Linked DNA regions of Homo sapiens: region 2 is linked to region 1. The links are contacts of gene promoters, found by promoter capture Hi-C in blood cells and fetal thymus (Javierre and others, 2016). All regions are on one chromosome and are shown on one strand. Each heading gives the region's core, a stretch centred on a gene start or on the middle of the fragment in contact. The rest is flanking DNA. Distances are from core to core; before and after follow the strand shown. Region 1 holds the start of EML6 (EMAP like 6). Region 2 overlaps EML6 (EMAP like 6).

The links. The method cuts DNA at HindIII sites, captures the fragments that hold promoters and counts their contacts. A CHiCAGO score of 5 or more calls a contact.
Region 2: a contact is called between a fragment that was not itself captured here and the fragment with the promoter of EML6 in region 1, in 1 of 17 cell types (endothelial precursors). The highest score is 5.8, in endothelial precursors.

Annotation. Positions count from the first base shown.
Region 1 is chr2:54,718,872-54,724,989 of GRCh38, forward strand. It overlaps EML6 (EMAP like 6), which reads left to right and starts at 4,791. Exons shown (of 42, transcript NM_001039753.4): 1 at 4,791-4,906; 2 at 5,678-6,118. RefSeq lists an enhancer at 4,324-4,543 and silencers at 4,684-5,173, 5,845-5,994. The HindIII fragment of the contact is 5,681 bases long and covers 4,254-6,118 here.
Region 2 is chr2:54,830,204-54,836,297 of GRCh38, forward strand. The region is part of intron 7 of EML6 (EMAP like 6); the gene reads left to right. Among named protein-coding and RNA genes, the nearest start is that of EML6-AS1, 82 kb to the left of the region's middle. The HindIII fragment of the contact is 1,438 bases long and covers 2,687-4,124 here.

The DNA.
Region 1 (6,118 bases), core at 3,541-6,040:
TTCTGAGACGAGGCAAGGAGGAGCAAGTCACATCTTACATGGATGGTGGCAGGCAAAGAGAGCTTGTGCAGGGAACTTCTGTTTTTAAAACCATCAGATCTCGTGAGACTCATTCACTATCACGAGAACAGTGCAGGAAAGACCTACCCCCATCATTCAACCACCTCCCACCAGGTTTCTCCCACAACACATCAGAATTGTGGGAGTTACAATTCAAGATGAGATTTGGGTGGGGTCACAGCCAAACCATGTCACTGATATCTTAAATTCATGTTGTAACTAAGTTCTTCTCTAGCAGAGAATGTAAACTGTCTTCCAGATGGGGTTCTTCATCTATCTTTTGCATGTTATATACCTTTCTTTCAGGATTTTAGTTTGTGTTTGCTACGCCCTTTCTTTTCATCTTGCTCAGTTTGGATAGGGGCAGCTATTTCTAGATCATGTATCTATTCTGATATATTTTATATAAGTTATTGTTTACATCCTTCCCACTTTATCTAGGAATGAACTGATCTTCTCAGAGCTAAAATATGGTGGCTGACTACTGTTTCCCCCCCTCCCCACTTTTCTGTAGCCTAATATTGGAAAAGAGTAGAGCAGGAAAATGGGTGAAATCTACTGGGACTAAGTACAGCCTCCACTAAGAGACAAGGTTTTGCTCTTGCTTAAGGTACTATGAAATGACCAGTTCCAGGACGTATCCCATGCAGCCAAAGATATATCTCACACCTATGAATGTTGGATTATTCCTTTGACTCTGCATAGTACAACCATCATTCAACCATCTCCCTGATGATGGCAGGTCCTGGTGAAACTATTTTTGCTGAAGACCTAAAGTAATATGTAGGATCTTCTCTAACGTATGCCCCTTCTTCACCTCAGCCTCTAAAAATGTATACTTACATTTTACTTTTCCAAATTGGAGCATTTTTTGTGAGAATTTTCATGAGTTTTTCAACTTATCTTCTGTCCTTACTACTGTTTGTTGAATCTTTTTCCCTCTTATTATTTAGGAAACTTCAGGAAGTAAATTCTGAGACTTTGCTTTACTCAAGTATTACTTTCTCATCGTTTAATAATAAATGGATCTATGTCTTGGGTTGGGAGGTATGGGAGTAGTGGTTAATAACACTGGTTCTGTAGTTGGACAGACCTAAATTTGATTCTGGTTCTGCCACTTATTGAATAATCTTGGTTAAATTACTTATTTTCTGGGTCTCAGTTTCCTCACATTAAAATGAAGTTATCTACTCATAGGGTTGTTGTAAGGATTTAGAGAGATAAGGGATGTAAAGTGCCATTTATTTTTTTCCCACAGTTTAAGAATCCTCTATTTTTAGTTAGGTACATGGTTGCCCAGAATAAAAACTAGTTCCTAAATCTCCTTGCAGCTAGGTATGCCTACATAACTAAGTTCAGACCAATAGCATATAAACAGAAAAGACTTGGGGTAGCTTTTTCTTTTTTATTTTGAGATCTCACTCTGTTGCCCAGGCTATAGTCTAATGGCGTGGTAACAGCTCACTGCAGCCTCAATCTCCTGGGCTTAAGCAATTCCTTCCACCTCAGCCTCCTGAGTAGCTGGGACTACAGGCCTGTGCCACTACACCCAGCTATTTTTGTAGTTTTTGTAGAGAAGGAGTGTCACCAAAGCCCAGCCTGGTCTAGTACTCCTGGGCTCAAGCAGTCCTCCCGCCTTGGCCTCCCAAAGTGTTGGGATTACAGGTGTGAGGCACTGTGCCTGGCCTAGGGTAGCTTTTGAGCATCTTCCTTTTAAAGGCAGCCAGGATGTGCCCCATGACCCTTCTCTTCTTTGAAATGTACTTGAAATGTACGTTTGATGGCTAGTACTACATCTTGGACCATGAGGTCTAGGGACAGCAGAGCAGAATGCTGGCATGCTGCCAGTAGCCTGAGTACTCAAGGATTCCTTTAAGCAGAGCCATCATTCTAGGCCTGTACTACCTCCAGGTTTTTGTGAGAAATAAAATTCTATCAAGTTTAAATCATGGCTATTTTGGGTTTCATTTACAGGTGAACTTACTCTACCATCTAAACAATTTCTTTCATCATTCTTAGCATTTAAGAGCAGCGTCTGGAGTCAGACTGCCTGAGTTCAAATCCAGGCTTTGTCACTATTTTGTGCATTCCTGGGCAAGTTACTTAAACTTTCCTTACCTTCATTTCTTCATCTGTAAAATGAGGAAATAACAGTAACTACTTCATAGGATTATTACTGGGGTGAAGATCAAATTATCTGATACACGTAAAGCACCATTTATAGTGCCTGGAACATAGTAACTGCTATTCATTACAACAACATAATGTTATTATATTATGAGTTTTACTCATGCTTTTTAATACTGCTTATTTCCAAAGGACACTACCAGTCTTATTTGACACTTTCAAGTAGAGGTTACTATCTACTGCCATATAGTAATAATTAACATTTATCTAATGCTTTACAAATTAACTTTTCACGTATGTATTACTTTGTTTCATTCTTACAATTATCCTGTGGGGTGAGTACTGCTATACTTTATTAAATGAGGAGAGTAAAGATCAGAGGATTTAGTGATTTGCCTAAGGTTACAATTGTAAGTGGCTGACTCAGACTTACTCCTCCAACTCATTTAACAGTCTGGTACAGCATGGGGGTCATTAGTTATACTAAAGATAATTTAGGAAATGAATATGTTCCATCCATTTCTATTTAAGAGACTTCTTTTCAATACATTTGTACATTTTCTCTGGAAAGTGTCTCTTCCTTTCTAGACCACTGCCACTATCTCTAACGCAGCCTCAAGCACTACCCCAGACTTCTAATACCTCATGCTTTGATTACTGCTTTCATTGCTATTCCCTTATTTTTATTCAAAAAATCAATGACTCCATTATTTTAAGGATACAGCGCAAACCCCTATGCTGAGCTCCATCTACAATCTAACCTTTCATGTGTCCTCTTGATCTTATATGAATTCTCCCTTGCACCAAACTGGGTATTCTCTTTAGTGTTCTCTAAATCCACTTTTCTGCATCTACACTTTTGTTTATTCCCTAAACGCATGTAGAACGCTCTTTCAATTTATCTTTACTTATCTCAATTCTATCTATATTTCCTAGTTCCTCCATGAAACTTTTCCTGATGTATTTTATCTGGAAAAACTCTTCCTCTTCTGAATTCTTATATAGAACTTACTGGCCAGGCACAGTGGCTCATGCCTGTAATCCCAGCAATTTGGGAAGCCGAGGCGGGCAGAACACCTGAGGTCGGGAGTTGGAGACCAGCCTGGCCAACAGGGCGAAACCCTGTCTCTACTAAAAATACAAAAATTAGCTGGGCGTGGTGGTGCGTATCTGTAATCCCAGCTACACAGGAGGCTGAGGCAGGATAATCGTTTGAACCCAGGAGGCGGAGGTTGCAGTGAGCCAAGATCACGATATTCTAGCCTGGGCAACGGCCTGTTTTGTCTCAAAACAAAACAAAACAAAAAGAACAACAAAAACTTACTGTCTTTATATAATTCATTTGGCACTGTTTTATGGCACGACATCATTGATCAACTATATTTTTGCTTCTATCTCAAACCTTTCTCAGGCCGTGTTTTTGTTTTTGGCAGTGTTCTTGTTGCCTAGCACAGTGCCATCTCACTTATTTGTTGATTCTGTTTCCTTAAAAACAAAGATGAGACCAATTCAAATCCTCATTACTGCGGGCAGCAACAAATCATCCAAACTCTGGCACTTCCAGTTCTTTCGAGCTTTCCTACCAGGTCGGAGGGTTGTCTTAAAACTTGAGGGAGATGAACTGAGTAAGCGATTACACTGAAAGCATGGGAGGGAAAGGACGTTCCAAACGTCCAATCCATCATCCTTTTGCAGCCTCTTAGTCACTGGGATTTTGAAATCTCTTTCCAAAGACTAGCTATGGCCCTAAATTGGAAATAGGCTACTTGAGAACACAGTGGATTCATAGTTCATCTCGGGCAGTTTTAGGAGAAATGCCACCAGCTTCTGCGTTTGAAGGCCAAGGTTAGCTGTTCATGGCGTGAGCACCTTCCTGCTTCCAACCTCCGGTTATCTGTAAATACCCAAGTCCTCTAATTTAGGACGCAGGTCATGGGAAGACGCTGGTTCTTAGGGCAGAAGTGAGCTCACATTCCCAGCATTTTTCTTAAACTTGGCAGAACTGCACTTTAACAAATTAAAATCCATGTGAATGAAAAGGAAAACTTAAGTAGGAAACAAACTTAAGCTTGAGTCAGTTACAGCATGGTGAGGATGTCGGTTACAGCAACACTCAGAGACCGATGAAGGAGAAATTCCAGTGGTGGGCTGGGAGACCGTCTCCATTCCAACTCCACCGCTTTTCTCTACAGAGACCCACGCACGCCAGCTCCCGCCTCAGTCACAAGGGAACGCCCGCGTGGGCAGGCAATCGTCCTTGGTGAGCCGGGATCTCCTCACCCCGAGAGCCGCAGGCTCCGCTGACGCCGGTACAGGTCTCGCTGCGACTCCCTCTGGGCGCGCGGAATCCTGGGACTTGTGGTCCCTTCCGCGCGCTGTCCGCCCTAACCGGCGCAGAGAGGACTACACTTCCCAGGATGCGTCGGGGGAAGAGGCCACAGGGACAGGCAGAGGGAGGGGGCGGCCCCAGTCCTCCGGGGCGTCGCTGTTTCCAAGCGGCGAGATCTCGCCTAGTAACCGGCAGCTGAGGTTCACTAGCGCGGCGTTGTGGCCCCGCCCCCGGAGCCCCGGCTGGAGGAAGAACCTGTCTCCCGCGGCGCCCCAGTGACGAAGTCCATCCCCGGGTGCGGGAGGCGGGGAGGGGAGGGCAGGCAGAGGATTTCGCTCGCTCGCCCGCGCGGGATCCGGGACGCGCCGGTGGCGTCCGCTGGCAGCAGAGGTTAGAGGCAGAGAGCGCGCGGATGCTCCGCGGGCGAGGCTGGTTCGAGAGTGGGAGGAGTGCAGGGCGCCGCCAGGGCGGCAGTGCGCGCGGGCCGAACAGTCCTGAGGGCGGGCATCCCTCGCGCAGCGCGCCGACCCCCGGGACGTGTGCGTCTGTGGGGGGTTGCTGTCCCCCGGGTCCCTCGGGCGACCCCTCTCCACGCTGGGCTCAGGGCAGGACCCGGGATTCCGTGGGACCCGGTGTTTAGCGCAGAGGTTTCTGGGGAGAAGTACACGATTTTTGCCACTTGTTATTTGATTTCTCCTCGACCAGGAGCGTTTGTAGGTAGCGCACTCCCTCCGACTGCACTAGTGCCTCGTTTCTTCCGAGTAAGACAATCTTTCATGATGCGGATTGGAGTTGCTGATCAATGAGAGCTGCTAAGTTCTTTATGGCTTTCTCGGTGAAGAGAAGGTTCACGGAGGATATGATTATTAAACACACACATGAAAACTAATTGGAGCATCTAAAAAATGACCATTGCATATTCGCCCTCGCTTATTAGGGAAACAGCAAGCGTTCCTTCAAATCGCATCAGCAACTGCCAGGCAGCAGCATTTACGCATATTTCATATCATTAAGGAGATGGAACTGGAGAGAGAAAGCGGGAGTAGGGGACAATTTTTAAAAATACCCAACTTGGTTTAGTTTGGGGATAATTTTCTTGGATTGGGTGACTTATGCGAAAAATCTGTTTCTTTCTTCCTCGCTCTCGCTTCCTGGATATAGACTGTCAATTTCGGATCCAAAGACGGCGATGGCAGAGCTCACCCGGGTTGCCTGTCAAATCAAGGCTATCGCAGAATAAATCCCGCCGCCTGCCGCGAAGCCCCGGCGCACCGCAAACTTCAGTGAGCGAACTGGGTGATCGCTGTTGGGATATGCAGATTCCTGATGTAAAAGGCGGGGTGGCCCCCCCGAGAGCCTCTCCCGGGGGCCGGAGCCCGCAGGTGCAGTGAGGCGCGCGCGCCGGTGCCGGCGCCCCCAGAGCCGCCTTGCCCGGGTAGAGGGAGCCCGGCGCCCGGCGGGGTCTGGCGGCCGCACACCGGCGGCGGCGGCTTGTCTGCGGCGGCTGCAGCGGATGATGGTGGCGGCCGGCCCGCTGGGCTGTGCCTGTGTGTCGCCGCGGAAATCAGCGCCCTGCGCCGCGCGCTGAGCCCCTGCAGGTCC
Region 2 (6,094 bases), core at 2,156-4,655, 110 kb after region 1:
GAATTTACAGCCGAGAAAGATTAAAGTGGAAAATGTAAATAGGTAAGACAAGAGGAAGTCATAGCACTGTTAATACGCTAAGCACAGGTTGGGAGGTTCTGTTCACTCCCCACAGGTGGGCCACAGACCCTGCGCCAAGGGAGGGGTACATGGTACTGTGAGCCATGGGGGTCCACAGGATGAAAACTTACCCATCGTTGTTGTGAAGGGGAATCTTTTTCAGTGCCGAGATGAGGGAGAAATTTCCTGAGCATCTTTTAGAGAAGACCCTGTGACATAGGGCTCAAAGTCCTCAACAGGCCTGAAACGAGTTGTTTCTCCTGGGCTGTTCCTCATGAAGCCCCCGCTGTGTGACCTGATGGCGATGCTGCCACAGAGGTTGTTCCATAGGCCAGATCATGTGGCAGTGCGCGGTGCTCTCTGCCGGCCTTAGGTAGATTTCAAAGGACTGGGAGAAAACAGCCTAGACGGCATATCCTTCAGGCCATCCTTAAATAGTGTTGTTTGCAGCAAAACTTTGCCAACAGTTGAGCAACAGGGAAATGAGCTGGATATTGTACTTCCTGTTTATACCTGGATGCCAGCTGCTTTATGTATCTGTGAAATACAAAAATGTGCATCTAAGTCAACTAATCCAGGATTGGACTCTTGTCTTCTCACGGAGGCTCAGGATGCTGGTGTGCATACGTTTCTGAATACTAGGCACAGAGTTTGGCATAGGAAGTTGTGGAATTTGGTGTCTACCTCAATGTAGGGACAAGGAGATCGAAGGCCTTAAGTTCTCTGCCATAGAGTGTGGGCCAGGGAAACTTGATCCGGAAAAAACATGCCAAACAGATATAAGCTTGCAAGTACCCGTAAGAGCAATTTTTTTTAAGTACAGTAGCCAAAAATGTTTGGTCCTGAACCATGAAACTTCTTGGTATATCTTTCAAGGTAAACCAGAAACCAAAACATGTACTTAGAGAGCAGAGTCAACTTGCCAGATGGGATTAGTGACCATAAACTGCCTAAACGTTGGGGAGTACCAACCAGGATTCATGACTCTTTTTGGCAGTTACTCCATTTAACTAATCCAAAAATTGTATCACATAATTAAGGCATAAATTTTAAAGCATGGGGATCAGCTAAGAAGCCATTGGTTTACGCTGCTATACTTTTCTGCCCAATACTGAGTCCTTGAGCCTGGCTCTCCTGGGAGAGTTCAGGGACCAGTTCTGAATGAGGATCTGTGTAACCAGGTGTGGTACTGATCACATCAGCCCCACAGCCAACTCCCATCTACAGAGTTAGGACAGTCAGCGACGCCCTCCGTTATACATCAGTCTCAGATTCCCGCCCCATCCTTACCAAGATCAAAGCACATCTGGCTGGTACACGGTGGACACTGGGAACCCGAAACAAGCCTGCACCTCATAGGATGTGCCTGCCCTGTGGTGCCTGGGCTTGGCGTTGACCAGGGATTGGTGTGCATCTTAGATGGCTTACTGATAAGGCGGTAGCCTGCATTTTGTAGGGAGAAACAGATTGTGCTTTTAAAGGATGGTATAGATCATGTTCCAGTTTGAGTCCCAGGGAGTCGGAGAGGGCACAGGGGCTGGGATGGAGCTCCTGGGAGAGTGGAGATGGCACTGCTTAGCATGCAGCCCCACAGTGTGGATGCTGTGGATGATGTTAATTTTAGAATTGCTGCTGACGACCAGTACTCTTAATTGCTTAGTATTTTACTTTAAACTGATTAATATATCTTTTTAAAACTTTGCTTTAAACTAATATTTGTGACATGAGTTTAATATGCTGGGGTTTAATTTTTGCCCTTGGAGCACCCACCTAAAATTATCCTCTCCCCCTGGCTTGGGCAACATTGTCACAAAAGGCCACTGTGTATCATCAAGCATCAAAAGAGATGCCTTCATTCCAGTCCTCAGTGAAAAAACAATGTACATGTAGCATCAAAAGAAGAAAGGCTCCTGGTTTGAATTACTGGTAACAACTAAAGTCTGGCCCACCCATTGCTTCCAACTTAGGGAGTTCTTGAGCCTGCATGGACAGGGTCATGTGGGGAAACTTGCTCTGAATCCCTCTCTAAGGTGCTCTGTTGCGCTCAGCCAGGCCTTGGTGCCATTATTGCACTGAAGCAAGGAAGGAGGATGTTGAGTTCCAGAGCCACCTTCCATAGCTCCGAACAGGGAGAGACTCTCAGAACCGGCCCTCCTGTGGTCTTGGAGGCTGGCTGCCTGGGCCATCCTGTGATGGGGCAGCCTCTCCAAGGCAAGTGGAGGTGTGCCCCAAATCCAAAGTGAGGTAGAAGACCCAACACAAGTGTAGGAATTAAAATACATAGGATTTGAGGAGATAAAAGTAATCAAGATGTAAATAGCTTTCTGGCGTAGCTCCCCCTTCAGCCAGGCAATACCATACCCTTGGTTGTTTCAACATTAGCAAAGAGCTGAGCAAATAAAAGGGAAGGAAAGAGGGTGGGAAAAGAGCAAAAGAAAGCAGAGTGGACAGAAGATGGTCAGGTGTCCTGTCCTCCCCACCCCCCCGCCAACCCCTCATCCCTTCCCTCAAAGAAGGCTTGGCCTTCTGCTCCACCTCTCTTTGCCTCAAACAAACCAAGTATATTCGAAAGGAACAGATTCAGGCAGAGCAGTGTTAGACTTCCTTGCCCTCAGTTTGGACATGAAGCTTCCTTGTTCTCAGTTTGGACATGACAGTTTTATTTTTATAAGAACTATCTTGATATAAATGAGCTTTCTTCTGTATTTTTGCTATTTGTGAAACAGCGACACTCGAATTCATTTCAATGGAAATGTAGCGATTTCTCATCTTACTCAAACAGCCAAATAGTTTTCTAAACAAATTTAGCAAGAGAATTAATCATGGCCACGGCCCAGTTCCCATGACATGGTATGGGTACTTTTCTATGTTCTATAAATTTAAAAGTATTAGCAAAAATTAAGAAATTGCTGCTTACTAGTGTTTAGGAATCTGAGGGTATTTATAAAGATCACACTTAGTGTGCCACCTGTAAAGACTTCTGTTGCTCCTCCTGTAGACATCTATAAGATTTACAAAATGAATCTGACAATTTCCAAGTTGTTTAATGGAAATCTTTGCAAGATTGGCATACATTTGCATCTTCTAATAACTATTAACTGTTAGCCATCAAGAAAGAAGTTTTAAAATGAACTAAGATGGATACTAAGCTCAGAAAAAAATGATATGGCTTTGTAATAAAGTGACATTATTAATTCTTTTACATCTTTGTAGTAGCTTGAGCTAATTAGGACACTTGACTTACAGTAAAAACAATTAACCCCACTTTAGGTTAAGCGTGAATGATTGGAGATGGGTCACATTCACATCAAGAATTGGTTAGTGTCAGATCTGATTCTCAGGGCTCCCTCCCTTCTCCCCAAGGGTTAGTCAAAGAAAATGTCACTCACATGATGAGGAGGGCCATCCCTCAGTGAAAGGGAATTGTAGAGTTTTATTTGCACCGGTGACTTGTGCATCTTTTGTGAGTTATTGCATTTTTGCTGACTGGGTGTTCAAACAAGTTTCTGTAGCAACAACAACACAAGATGATATAAACCAACAACCTAATTCACCCAGGATCCTTCATCTGCAATTCTCAAAGCCAAAAGGTTCAGAATACCAGAAGATTTTCTAAATAACTAATTCGGCAGCAAAACTTGACCTGATATGAGGCTACTGGGTGTCTTTATATATTTTGTTATAGAAATATTTAATTTCAAGATGCTGCCTCAGTTTCTGCTGGATATATTACAAGTCCAAAATCCACATTTTTCTGAATTCCAAAATGCATCTGGCACCAAAGGATTTCAGCTGTATGGGGTGGTTGTCCTCCAATATACATCTTAGTGAATATAAAATTCTGGAATTTTCAGGCTGGGAGACACCCTGGATGTAAGGCGGCGGTGGCGGGGCATGGGGAGAACTCCCTCACTTCATGGATGGTACAATGAGGCCCAGGGTCATTAGCATCAAGCTAATTGTAAACTGAAGTCACTCACTCATACCTCACACCAAACTTCACAACAGTGCATGCTGAGTCTGATCACTTTTAAAACACATTTATGATCTGGGTAAAATAATGAAGCTTGAGTAACTTATAGTGGTGGCAAGAAAAGCCAAAATTCTTAAAGTCCATCAACCAAAATGAATTACTTCTAGGATAATAAAACACTTTGGGTTAATGGTTATAAATGATTCTGTCTAAAGGAATACAGTAATTATTCACACAGTATAAGATGTATTATTTACTTATTTGTCCACTCAGTAAACATTTATTAAACATCCAAGTGCCAGATACGTGCCTAGGAACTGAATAGGAAGTCCTGAAAAGTATACTTCAGTCAAGATTATATTTTAGGTGTGAGTGGAGGTCGGGGGAGTTCTGTGGGTTTTAACTACCAACACATATTTATTGAGTTGTTGCTGTGTCTAATGGACTATAAACTCCGCATCCAGAAAGAACCTGCATTAGGTGAATCACTGAGCAAGAATTAGAGGCCAAAGTTCCAGGACATGAGATGCCCTGCTTAGACTTGTCACTATCTCCACTGAACCTTCTCTGGTCAGGCCACCACCATCTTTTACATAGAATATTGCAGTTGCTTTGTAAGTTGCATTCCTGCTTCGACCACCATCCTCTGCACAGCAGCTAGAGGGATTATTTGAACTTTATGTGAGCCAGATCACATAATTGCTTTCCTCAAAACCCTGCAATGATTCATCTTACCCACAGTCAAAGTCCTTATGGCAGCCACCACCCTCCGCATTGCGCTGCTTCGCCCTGGCTGCTCCTTCCCCTCGCTGCTTCTCCCTCTGCCTGTGACACTCTTGCCTAGAATCTGCATGACTACTTCCCTCCTCTCCTTCAAACCTTTGCTCAAATAAAGCCTATGCTGATGATCTCTTCTAGAATTGCAACTCATTCTGCCTCTACCACTCCAAGTATTCCAAATCCCCTTCTCCCGGGTTTACCTTTCACCTTGTAACATACAGTATAATTTCTGTGTTATGTTCTTGGCTATTGTCTGTTTCCACAAAGGTAGGGATCTTTGTTCACTGATGCCTCCCACCCACTTAGGACGTGCCTAGTGTGTGCTGGAGTCCTGGAAGTAGCTGTCAGGTGAATGAAAAGTGTCATAGGACTGGAGGGTGGAGCCTTGTGGAGGAGCGCAAGTGATGAGGATGCAGAAGGAGGAACAGATAACTTGGTTTCTTTGTGTCAACCTGTGACATGCAAGCTTGCACTCCAAGGGCCAACTACAGGAGGTCTTAGAGGTTTAGGCAGGCATGTGGCATAATCGGATCTCCACTTAGTTCTCCTGCCCCAGAGCAGAGAGCAGACTGGGGTAGGATAGGATCAGAGGTAGGAGCCCAGGTGGTTGTTCCAGAGTGTTCATGCTTATTACTGTTTTTACTCCTCTGAGTACTGCGATGGTCAGATAGTCTAGCAGCTCTCAACCAGGAGTGATTTTTTGGACATTTGGCAGTGTCTGGAGACATTTTTGATTGTCGCAACTGCAGAGTTGCGACTGGCATCTATGGATAGAGGCCAGGGAAGCTGCTAAAAGTATTACAGTGGACAGGAGAGCCACCACAACAAAGAATTACCCAGCCCCAAATGTTGATAGTGTTGTTGTTAAGATCCCTTGCAGAGAACGTCCAAAAGACCAACTCTCAAACCTGAGAACACCCTTGTTTACGATAGAAGCAAAATAAGCACATCCTATTCTCCAGTCCCGCGGGCGGCTCCATTACTTACCTCTTGACTCCTTGCCTCTGTCACCGCTCTCCCTGTGTGCCCACCATTTTTCTCTGGGCTTGCCCTTCAGCCTCACTGTTCTGCTGAGAAGGTAGAAGAACACTGCAGAGGCCCGAGCCTCAGGAGCTGGAGACAGATTTGCAGCCAGGAGATGTGGTGTCACTGTGTGCGCAAGTTCCGTGTGTGACATGGTGTCAGAGGGCTGCTGGCCTGGCTTGTAGTAATTCCTCTGTAAATAACTCTCCTTAGCCAGCCTTATGTAAAAGCTAGCCTGGGTGGGTTTCCTCCCTGGGT